4 separate regions of the Homo sapiens genome follow, and regions 2, 3 and 4 are each linked to region 1. The links are contacts of gene promoters, found by promoter capture Hi-C in blood cells and fetal thymus (Javierre and others, 2016). All regions are on one chromosome and are shown on one strand. The core of a region is centred on a gene start or on the middle of the fragment in contact, and the rest is flanking DNA. Distances in the headings are between cores, read along the strand shown. Region 1 holds the start of ST8SIA6-AS1 (ST8SIA6 antisense RNA 1). Region 2 overlaps CACNB2 (calcium voltage-gated channel auxiliary subunit beta 2). Region 3 overlaps LOC105376435 (a long non-coding RNA gene). Region 4 overlaps CUBN (cubilin).

Region 1 (2,664 bases), core at 74-2,573:
ATATTGTCCAGGAGAAGGAATGTCACAAGGTAATGTCATCAGTAAAGGTAGGAACTGGCTATTTTCACTTCTTTTTGTGGTTCTTCAGTTGCCTCAGGCCATCTGGATGTATAAGTGCAGGCTTGGGCTCAGAAGCCTGACAGAGGTCTCATACCTCCCTAAAATGTATAAAACCAGGCTGTGCCCCAGCTACTTAGGGGAAATGTTGTCAGGACTTCCTGAGGCTGTGTCACGGGCGCATTCTCAACCTTGGCAAAATAAACTTTCTAAATTAACTGAGACCTGTCTCAGATTTTCTGGGTTCAAGTGCCTGTAAACACAACACTTTGGGAGGCCAAGGCAGGAGGATCACTTGCACCCAGGGTTTTGAGACCAACCTGGGCAACAAAGAAAGACCCCATCTCTACAAAAAATAGAAATTAGCCAGCCATGGTGGCACGCACCTGTCTTCCTGGCTATTCAGGAAGCTGAGGCAGGAGGATCGCTTGAATACAGCAGGTCAAGGCTGCAGTGAGCTGTGTTCGTGCCACTGCACTCCAGTCTCGGCGACGGAGTGAGACTGTCACACACACACACACACACACACACATACACACAGGCCGGGCGCGGTGGCTCGCACCTGTAATCCCAGCACTTTGGGAGGCTGAGTCGGGCAGATCACAAGGTCAGGAGTTCGATCACAAGGTCAGGAGCTCGATCACAAGGTCAGGAGCTCGATCACAAGGTCAGGAGCCTGGCCAATATGGTGAAACCCTGCCTCTACTAATAACACAAAAATTAGCCGGGCGTGGTGGCACGCGCCTGTAGTCCCAGCTACTGGGGAGACTGAGGCAGGAGAATCACTTGAACCCGGGAGGTGGAGGTTGCAGTGAGTCGACATCGCACCACTGCACTCCAGCCTGGGTGACGGTGAGACTGTCTCCAAGAAAAAAGAAAGAAAAGCATGTAGTTAACCTGCAACGACATCAAACACAGAGTTTCTTCTCCTTCCTCCTGCAAGGCTCTTGTATTGGTTCGAACCCTGAGAGAACGCCAACAAACAACACAAGGCAGTGTGGAGCAACAGGCAGTTTTAATGAATGCCTGAAGGCAGACCTTCAGGCCATTTCAGGCCGAGGCCTAAAATGGCATCAGCCCCAAATGAGGACGGGCAGGGGTTTTACAGTCTCCCGTAAACAGGAAGTGTTTCAGTCTGTGTATCTACTGCTACGTGATACCCGGTAGGCCTCTCTCTGGGTCTTCAGAACAGCTCTCTCCCCGCTTCTGCTATCTTGCTGACGCACGCTGATGACGTAAGCCGCCTTGCGCCTTGGGACTGGGCCTGAGAAGGGAGGAGTTATTCAGGCCTCCGCCAGCTTCTAGGCCCTGGGGATGGTCTTTCACCTCCCTCTTTCTGATCTCTTTTTCATGCTCCTCCTTGCTCCAAAGAAAAGCCGGATGGCAAAAGAGCCCAGAACCTATTGGTGAGTTCCACGTACGTCAGCCTCCCTGGGAAAAGTCAGGCAGAGATGAAACTGGAGGGTGAAAAGCTATGAGGGTGAAAGTGGATTGAGTGGGCCCAGTGGAAGACGCACAGCACCGTGGATTCCCCTTGCAAGCTTAAGGCCCGCTAGTTGGAATTTAAGGAAAAGAAAACAATAATTTTTTTTTTTTTTTGAGACGGAGTTTCGCTCTCGTCACCCGGGCTGGAGTGCAGTGGCGTGATCTTGGCTCACCACAACCTCTGCCTCCCGGGTTCAAGAGATTCTCCAGCCTCAGTCTCCCGAGTAGCTGGGATTACAGGCATGCGCCACCACACCCAGCTCATTTTGTGTTTTTAGTCGGGGCGGTGGGGCGGGGGGGGGGGGGTTCTCCATGTTGGTCTGGCTGGTCTCGAACTCCCCACCTCGGGTGATCTGCCCGCCTCAGCCTCCCAAAGTGCTAGGATTACAGGTGTGAGCCACCGCGCCGGGCCCAGAAAACTAGGATTTTCATAGGGCTATCCTTCTGTGAGAAACGGAGCTAACATACAGGACTGGACTGCTGTCACATCGATTAACCCAAATCAGAGATCTTAGCCAGTATCAAGCTTTCCTAATAATTTCAAAGATCTGCAGAGAAATGAGGGGAAATGGGGCTAGAGGTGAAGTGAAAAAGTTAAGAGATTTCTGCTGAACTCTAGGAGAGAGATTGCAACTCCTTTTACTTGTCAGGATAGAATAGACTATGATATGATAACAACGCCAAGCTCTCAATTGCTTTACAAAACAAAGGTTTGTTTCTTGCCCATGAAATGCCCACTGTATATCTGGAGGGCCGTCTAGGACAGCTGTGCTGTGTGTGGTTTAAGGCTTTCAATGGTTCATTTTCTGTGTCGACCTGACTGGGCTCAGGCATGCCCAGATAGCTGGTAAAACATAATTTCTGGTTATGTCAACAGACTCAGACAAAGCAGAGACAGGCTTGGGACATCAAGGGTGGACACCCCAGTCCTGTCTTCCCACACTGCACATGGCCCAGGATCGTAGGTGAGGTTTCTAGGTGAGGTCAGTGGGCTTCCTCACACAGCAGGAAACTTTAAATTGTTAAACGGTTTCTCTTTTAGACCCAGGGAGTTCCACAGCCTTTGAGCCATTCTCCAGGCAGTCCTGCCTCCTGGATCCTGGATTCCATTAACTTTAAGCA
Region 2 (2,664 bases), core at 121-2,620, 840 kb after region 1:
CCAGCACTTTGGGAGGCCGAGGTGAGTGGATCGTCTGAGTTCAGGAGTTCAAGACCAGCCTGGCCAACATGGTAAAACCCTGTCTCTACTAAAAATACAAAAAGCAGTTGGGCGTGGTGGTGGACGCCTGTAATCCCAGCTACTTGGGAGGCTGAGGCAGGAGAATTTCTTGAACCCAGGAGGCGGAGGTTGCAGTGAGCTGAGATTGCGCCATTGCACTCCAGCCTGGGCGACAGAGTGAGACTCCATCTCAAAAAGAAAAATAAAAGATGTGAAACTTGCCTCAAAAGTAAGCTTTCATTCCTTTGTTAACTTTGTTGCTTTGAGTGTTCTGTGTGTTACATAAATGACTCAAAAATCCCATCTGACACAACTCCAGAAGGCTTTCTGGTTTGCTGTCAGTCATGGGCATATTTATGGGCATGACACACACACAGATGAGCCATTTAAATAGGATTTTGAGCATTGCTAATTTTGCTTCAGAAAGATTTGTTTGATTTTGATGCCTTTTGCTTAATCCCTACATATCTGGTCTTCAAATATGAACTATTAAATCATATATCCAACACCTTCTATATATGTAATACTGAATATTAATAATTGGCATAAATAATTACAACTCCACAGCACTGCAGAAGAGAATGTCATTAAAGAGGCTAGTCAGTAATATACATCCAGCCAATGTTTGTTGAATGAATAAATGAAATTTCATTTAGCATATTTAATTTTTGTGAAAGCAAAAGAGTATTACACTACTAATACATTCCTCTTGTTCCATGAATAATTATTGATTATTTAATGTATTTTACACGATTTTCAGGAGCAATCGTTATAGTAAAAATGTAGTAGTTTTTAATACTTATGCAGAAAAGCACATAAAACAGAATGCTCCTATGTTCCCTTCTTTTTACATTAGGAAACATTTTTTTCTTTATTTAAAAATGAAATTTTTCAGTATAAACTATTATATGGTAACTAACAAAACATTTAAAAGTACTACAGTCTTTTTCTTTCATCACCAGATACAACCACTATTAATATTTTAATTTCCTTTTTAGTTTTTAAAAATAAAGCTGTAATAATATTAAGGAGAATTTTTGTCTTCAATTTCAGAGACAGAATCCTATTGCAGAAATTTTATTTTTAAATTTTCCCTTTGTGTTGCTTTTCCCCCCAATAAAACAGAAACTGCTAGGCTCTTAGAAAATGGGAACTCTTCCATCTAGTGAAATATGTACAGAAAAATAGATAATAGGCAGCCTACCCCTTCTACTAACATATCACTGCATCTTAAACTAAGGGGTCTATTTTTTTTTTTTGTCCTGGGAAAAGTGGACTCATTTTCATATCTAGAATTAATGAGGTTTAGTTTGATAAGGACTGCTTTTAGGTGGCCCTAGAGATGAGTAATAAGGACAAATTAGATATAAAATAAAATATTACTCTTTTGCAATGTTTGCTTTTCCTAAACCTCTTAGCGAAAGTCTCTGCTGTTTCTTGTCTTTTTTGGCTAGAATGGTTTCTAGGACTATGAACAACTGCTTTAAACACAGCAAACTTTCTAACTCCTTTTTATCAGGCTTAAATATGATTAAGACCTACCTTCCGTGTGCCTTCTCCCTCCTCTTCCCTCCCTCTTTCAACTTCTCCCTTCAAAAAAAAAAAAATTCCAATTTCTTTGTAGTCTCAAAGCTCAGCTGATATGAAATCGATTTTGGGAAGTGAGTTTCATACAAAATTAAAGGAAATCCATTTTATTGAAGAAAATTACCCGGCTCCTTAAAGTTCCTCATTTTGTAGCTACTTTATACTTTCCAAAGAATTTCTTTCTCTAACCCACGAAGGGTTGGGACAGATGCTCATATTCTCATTTTACCCCAAGTTAGTTAGCAACTTGGATCAGGTTAAGAAGCTCGTTCTGATAGAACCTGGATGAGAACCTGGGCCCCCTAGTCTCCTGTGTCAGAGAGTAGGAGGTTATGCTTGGGAACAGAAGGCCTACGTCCCACAACCATGACCAGCCCAGCGTTTGTGGGAGTTCAGTCCAATATAGAATCACTCTTTCAAGGTAATAACTTTACTGCGGGCTTTTACGGCCTGCCGAGCCAAATCGAAGTCATGCCATCTCCAGATTGCAGGAGCAGAAACAGGTTAAAGGGCCTCAGTCCTCCCTTAAGGTGGCCTAAGCTCCGCCTCCTCCCTGCTACATCCTGACAGGCACATTCATCTATACCTCAGCCTGTCAATTTCCACTCCCTTTTTCAGGATGAGCCTAGTGTGGACACCAAGGTGTCCGCGTGTTTCGCTCTCTATGGCCCTTGTTCTTTTCTGATGTCAGCCAGCCCTCTGTTTGCTCAAGGCCAAGGCTACATAATTACTTAGCATGGACATTTCATTTCCTTCATTTTATGTGACCTGCTGTTTCTCAGGCTTTTGGCTGCACATAATAAGCTTTTTTTTTTTAAAGTGATCTATTGTATTTTTCCATGTTCTGTTGAGCTGGGAGGAGTCGGCAGAACCTTTTTAATATCAGATATTACAAAATCCCTGGCAGAGGATGGGGGATGGGGGAGGGTAAAGCCTGGAGAGACAGGGCTAAGCAGCTTAAAAACCACACCACTCACTTCCAGTTTATTAAGTCCCTACTTGATGCAAACTTTTCGT
Region 3 (2,664 bases), core at 121-2,620, 570 kb before region 1:
TACAGTTTAACTTAATTCTGACACTGTCTACCTCAACTTATAGTCAAATCCCACAAGTTAAGGGTTCATTTCCACAAGACTTTAGGTTGACTGTCACCTACACTTCTGACTGACCAGCTATAAATCAGGGTTCCCACACCCCCTTCTCAGGTTTGATTAATTTGCTAGGATGATGGTTAGCCTGTCCAGGGTCCTGATTGCTAGCAGTGAAACTTCATGGTGACACAATTTGGAATCAGGAAACTTATCCCTTGGCCACTAGATCTGGGAAGTTGGCTCAATGTATGTTTCACCAGATAAGAATATTAAGGTTTTTGCCTCAGGACTGGCTCAGGAAATCAAGCAAGATGGAGCTGGGAAGTGTGCTTTGTGAAGCTGGGAGACATCAGCTGATAGTCTTGTATGGCTGTCTTGTTCTCTGCTTTATCCTCAGTGCGCTGAGTACGTATCACATAGCTGATGCTCAATAAACATTTGGAAACAAGTGAATTAAATGTAAAGCAGAACCAGAGGATATACGGTGGGTCTTACGAATGAGAGTACAGTTGACTCTTTTCTCCTTCTTCCAGCTGAATTACTCAAAAACTGAATTACTCAATAACTACTTCCCTTGGCTATACACGAAAATGTCATGCTCCCAAGCCTGACCATCCCTAACCCACTAAAAAATCACTGCTTATTTCCTAGATGCCCAGCCTGGAAGATTTTGTAAAGCTTCATTTTGTCTCTTTTTTTCTGTATTTTTAATTTTAAAATTACATAATAATATTGACTATGCTTTCCTCAATTTCAGGTACACACTTCCCAGATATTCCAATATGCCTCCTAGAAAAGCATGCCCTTCTGAGTGGAAATGATACCGTTACTCTAATGATGCAGTCCATGCTCTAAGCATCATTTTTTTGACAGTGACATCATGTTAATCTTTCTTTCAGAAAAGTACTATGTCATTTCATGTTATTGTTAAACTTTCCCTGTATTCTGTACTTTTGCAATTCATTTTTTGATAAAAGAGGAAGATCTTATATCTGTCACATTTCGTCTGTTACAATTGGCCCATTGTTGTAGCTTATCAAGACCTTTTGGATTTGATGGTGTTACTTATCGCATTCACTGTCCTTTCCAATGTAATTGTCACCCATAAAGTTGATATGTCTATCCATAATACAAAAAGGGAGCAGGAATTGTTGTTGTTGTTGTTTGTTTTTTTGAGATGGAGTCTCATTCTGTAACCCACACTGGAGTGAAGTGGCGCGATGTTGGCTCACTGAAACCTCCGCCTCCTAGGTTCAAGTGATTGTCCAGCCTCAGCCTCCTGAGTAGCTGAATTTTCAAGGTTAGAGTATTTTATTTCTGTGGCTCCATACTCTGTCCAGAAATAATTATCTGCCATTTGAGTATTAGAGTAAGATGAAGTTACATTCCTCAGCTTCTCTCATTCACATGGTCTTTTGTTAATAACCCTTGATTTTGCATAATTAACATAAAGCAAATCTCCTTTGTAAAGGCTTCCGCTTTTCTAGAGGCACTGAAAAACTTTATAAAAGCATTGAATTTTCTTATGAAAAGGAAGCTAATAACTACCTCACTTAGTTACATGTCTGGCAGCATTGGAGATAAGGATGTGCTACTGAACTTTCTACTTCTTGTTAAGTGGCAAACCATATTGTTTATTTATAACTTAACATATTGTGTTAAGGAATAGGCAATGGTGGTGCTTATGGAAACTTTGTACTCCTGAGCGTAAATACATAATAGAGTTTGGATATTTGTCCCTGCTCAAATCTCATGTTGAGTTATAAAAGCCAGTGTTGGAGATCGGCCTGGTGGGAGGTGTTTAGATCGTGGGGGTAGATCCCTCATGAATGGCTTGGGCCATACCCTTGGTGATAAGTGAGCTCTTGCTCTGAGTTCACATGAGAGCTGGCCACTTAAAAGTGTGTGGCACCTGTCCCATACTCTCGCTGTCTTGCTCCTGCTTTCACCGTGTGACATGCCTGTTTCCCCTTCGCCTTCCTCCATGATTATAAGCTTCCTGAGGCTGCCCCAGAAGCCAAGCAGATGTCAGCACCATGTTTCCTATAAAGCCTGCAGAGCTGTGAGCAGATTAAACCTCTTTTCTTTATAAGTTACCCAGTCTCGGGTATTTCTTTATAGCAATGCAAGAATGATCTATTACAGAAAATTGGTACCAGGAGTGGGGTTTTGTTATAAAGATACCTGAAAATGTGGAACTGACTTTGGAACAAGATAATGGGTAGAGGTTGGAAGAGTTTGGAAGGCTCAGAAGACATAAAGATGAGGGAAAATTTGGAACTTCTTAGAGACTGTTTAAAAGTTGCAACTAAAATTCTGATAGTGATATGGATAATGAAGTCCAGGCTGCCAAGGTCTTCGATGGTAATGAGGAACTTAGTGGGAACTGGAGCAAAGGTGACACATATTATGCCTTAGCAAAGAACTTGGCTGCATTCTGTCCATGCCCTAGGGATCTGTGGAAGTTTGAACTAAAGAGTGGCAACCTGGGGTATCTGGTGGAAAAAATTTCTAAGCAGCAAAGTGTTCAAGATTTGGGCTGGCTGCTTCTAATAGCATGTGCTCAGATGTGGGAGCAAAGAAATGACTTCGAATTGGAACTTATATTAAAAAGGAAAGCAGAGTGTA
Region 4 (2,664 bases), core at 113-2,612, 520 kb before region 1:
TATAAACCAGGATTGAATTTTGAGAATGAGCTGAATCTAGATAAAATCTAATGTGTTCTATATGGTATATTATTATATCTCATTATAAAATATGATTTTGAAGTAGGCACAATTTATCCATTTATTCTGTAAATCACTCATATGGACAATATCGATGGAGTAACAATTGTGCAAGGCCTGGGGATTTAATCAGAATGTAGCTTTTGATTTCAGATTTAGGTTATAAAATGTACTTTAGGATTTGACGGTTAGGTGTCACTGCAAAGTGGGTAGGAAAGAACGAAAAATCACTGTAGCATGATGTGGTCCTGTTGAGAATGTTGATCCCTGCCCACCCCACCCTCAGCCACCCTCCAACCTTGGAAATAGGGTTGGGCGGGGGGCTTGAAAATTTGGGACTTCAATATTACTTTCTAATACATAGAGTCTTTCACTCTGACAGCTAAGGTGCTTTCCAGAAATTATCTGCTTTATCCCCATCACATTCTTAAATAGTTGTAATATTTCAAATTGATCAGTTTTTTAGTAGATAAAAATTGAGATTCAAAACGTTATAGGGCTTTTCTAAAGCCGTATCACCAAGCAATGATATCATGCATCAATCAGCTCTTTCCATCTGGCCATATGTCTTTTTTTCTTTCTTTTTTTTTTTTTTTTTTAGATGGATTTTTTTGCTCTTGTTCCTCAGGCTGGGCACAATCTTGGCTCACCACAACCTTCACCTCCCAGGTTCAAGCGATTCTCCTGCCTCAGCCTCCCGAGTAGCTGGGATTACAGGCATGTGCCACCATGCCTGACTAATTTTGTATTTTTAGTAGAGACAGGGTTTCTCCATGTTGGTCAAGCTGGCCTCGAACTCCCGACCTCAGGTGATTCACACACCTCGGCCTCCCAAAGTGCTGAGATTACAGGCGTGAGCCACCATGCCCAGCTTTTTTTTTTTTTTTTTTTTTTTTTTTTTGGGACGGAGTTTTGCTCTTGTTGCCCAGGCTGGAGTGCAATGGTGCTATCTTGGGTCACTGGGTCACTGCAACCTCTGCCTCCTGGGTTCAAGTGATTCTCCTGCCTCAGCCTCCCAAGTAGCTGGGTTTGTAAGCATGCACCACCATGCCTGGCTAATTTTTTGTATTTTTAGTAGAGACGGGGTTTCACCATGTAGGCCAGGCTGGTCTTGGACTCCTGACCTCAAGTGATCTGCCTGCCTCAGCCTCCTAAAGTGCCAGTATTACAGGCGTGAGCCACCGTGCCCAGCCTACCTGAACATATTTATACATTTGTTGGACTGTAATTCATTCTGTCCTTGTTATATATGTGCTTGGGTATTTTTGCCTTGGTCTCTTAGCAAAGGTCTCTGAACTGACCTTAATGCAACCTGACTCAGTCTCCATGTGACAAATACCCCAGGTGGAGGAAGGCAGACAGTGGCCCTCGTCATCAGCATGTGTGCTCTGGGCAACAGGGGCTGGCTGGGAGCTTTGAGTCCAGGTGAGAGGTGAAGCCAGTTGGACTTCCTGGGTCAAGTGGGGACTTGGAGAACTTTTCTGTCTTACAAGAGGATTGTAAAATGCACCAATCAGCGCTCTGTAGCTAGCAAGAGGATTGTAAAATGCACCAATCAACGCTCTGTAAAATGCACCAATCAGCAGGATCCTAAAAGTACCCAATCACAGGGAGGATTGAAAAAAGGGCACTCTGATAGGACAAAAATGGAACATGGGAGGGGGCAATAAGGGAATAAAAGCTGGCCACCCCAGCCAGCAGCCGCAACCTGCTCGGGTACCCTTCCACGCTGCGGAAGTTTTGTTTTTTTGCTCTTTACAATAAACCCTGCTACCGCTCACTCTTTGGGTCCATGCCAATTTTAAGAGCTGTAACACTCACCACGAAGGTCCATGGCTTCATTCTTGAAGTCAGTGAGACCACAAACCCACCAGAAGGAACCAACTCCAGAAACACAGGCACTGCCACCACTTGTCCCTGAGGGTGCGTCTTCCCCATCTGTCTTCCTGTGCTGTCTGTCCCCCTGCTGTCTTGCAGGGGACACCCCTCAGTCTCTCCTTGGCAACTCACTAATTGAAATGCCTGCAGACCTCCCATCTAATAGAGCCAAGTTCCATTTTCTACACTGAAGTTTTGCTGAAGTGTTATAGAATACATCATTTTAGAAAAAAAAAATGAAACAATGATGCTACTGCACAGTAAATAAATAAGTTTACTGAAAGCCCCTGATCTAACCCTATGTGTAGAAGTTTGATGTGTAGTGTGACATGCATATTGTGAATAGGCCAAGCAACTCTCTGGTATGAGACCCCCTCAGGAAGAACTGGAGGCTCTGATGGTTAAAAATACGTTTGCAAGTGTGAAGTGATTTGTACAGGACACACATAAACAGAGTCAAGGCAGGAGACGACCCTGCTGGTAAAGGAAGGGGCAGCAACTAAACTAGCAGAAGTTAACAGGACAGAAGGTACTTAAAAGCATCCGTTCTGCCTATAGGCCATGCCCACTTAGCCAAATCCACAGAACCAACAGCTTTTTAAACTTTATAGGAGCATAGAAGCCATTGACAATCTGATGCAAACTATGAACTCGGTTAGGAAAAATGCTCCGATTTGCAGATTATTTCAGAGTTTCACAGATTGCTGCAGCCCAGTGTGATCATTT

The links. Contacts are between HindIII fragments. The CHiCAGO score rates a contact against its expected background, and 5 or more counts as called.
Region 2: a fragment that was not itself captured here is called in contact with the fragment with the promoter of ST8SIA6-AS1 in region 1 in 1 of 17 cell types (M2 macrophages); the score reaches 5.8 in M2 macrophages.
Region 3: a contact is called between a fragment that was not itself captured here and the fragment with the promoter of ST8SIA6-AS1 in region 1, in 2 of 17 cell types (M2 macrophages and M1 macrophages). The highest score is 5.7, in M2 macrophages.
Region 4: a fragment that was not itself captured here is called in contact with the fragment with the promoter of ST8SIA6-AS1 in region 1 in 6 of 17 cell types (M1 macrophages, total CD4 T cells, naive B cells and 3 more); the score reaches 7.1 in M1 macrophages.

The regions. Positions count from the first base shown.
Region 1 is chr10:17,385,613-17,388,276 of GRCh38, forward strand. ST8SIA6-AS1 (ST8SIA6 antisense RNA 1) reads left to right here and starts at 1,324. Exons shown (of 3, transcript NR_034129.1): 1 at 1,324-1,463. The region is part of intron 3 of ST8SIA6 (ST8 alpha-N-acetyl-neuraminide alpha-2,8-sialyltransferase 6); the gene reads right to left. The HindIII fragment of the contact is 1,777 bases long and covers 1-1,596 here.
Region 2 is chr10:18,222,685-18,225,348 of GRCh38, forward strand. The region is part of intron 2 of CACNB2 (calcium voltage-gated channel auxiliary subunit beta 2); the gene reads left to right. Among named protein-coding and RNA genes, the nearest start is that of CACNB2-AS2, 37 kb to the right of the region's middle. The HindIII fragment of the contact is 2,157 bases long and covers 293-2,449 here.
Region 3 is chr10:16,820,035-16,822,698 of GRCh38, forward strand. It overlaps LOC105376435 (a long non-coding RNA gene), which reads left to right. Exons shown (of 3, transcript XR_930708.3): 3 at 794-1,223. Among named protein-coding and RNA genes, the nearest start is that of RSU1, 3.9 kb to the left of the region's middle. The HindIII fragment of the contact is 1,317 bases long and covers 713-2,029 here.
Region 4 is chr10:16,864,017-16,866,680 of GRCh38, forward strand. All of the region lies in intron 59 of CUBN (cubilin), which reads right to left. Among named protein-coding and RNA genes, the nearest start is that of RSU1, 48 kb to the left of the region's middle. The HindIII fragment of the contact is 4,192 bases long and covers 1-2,664 here.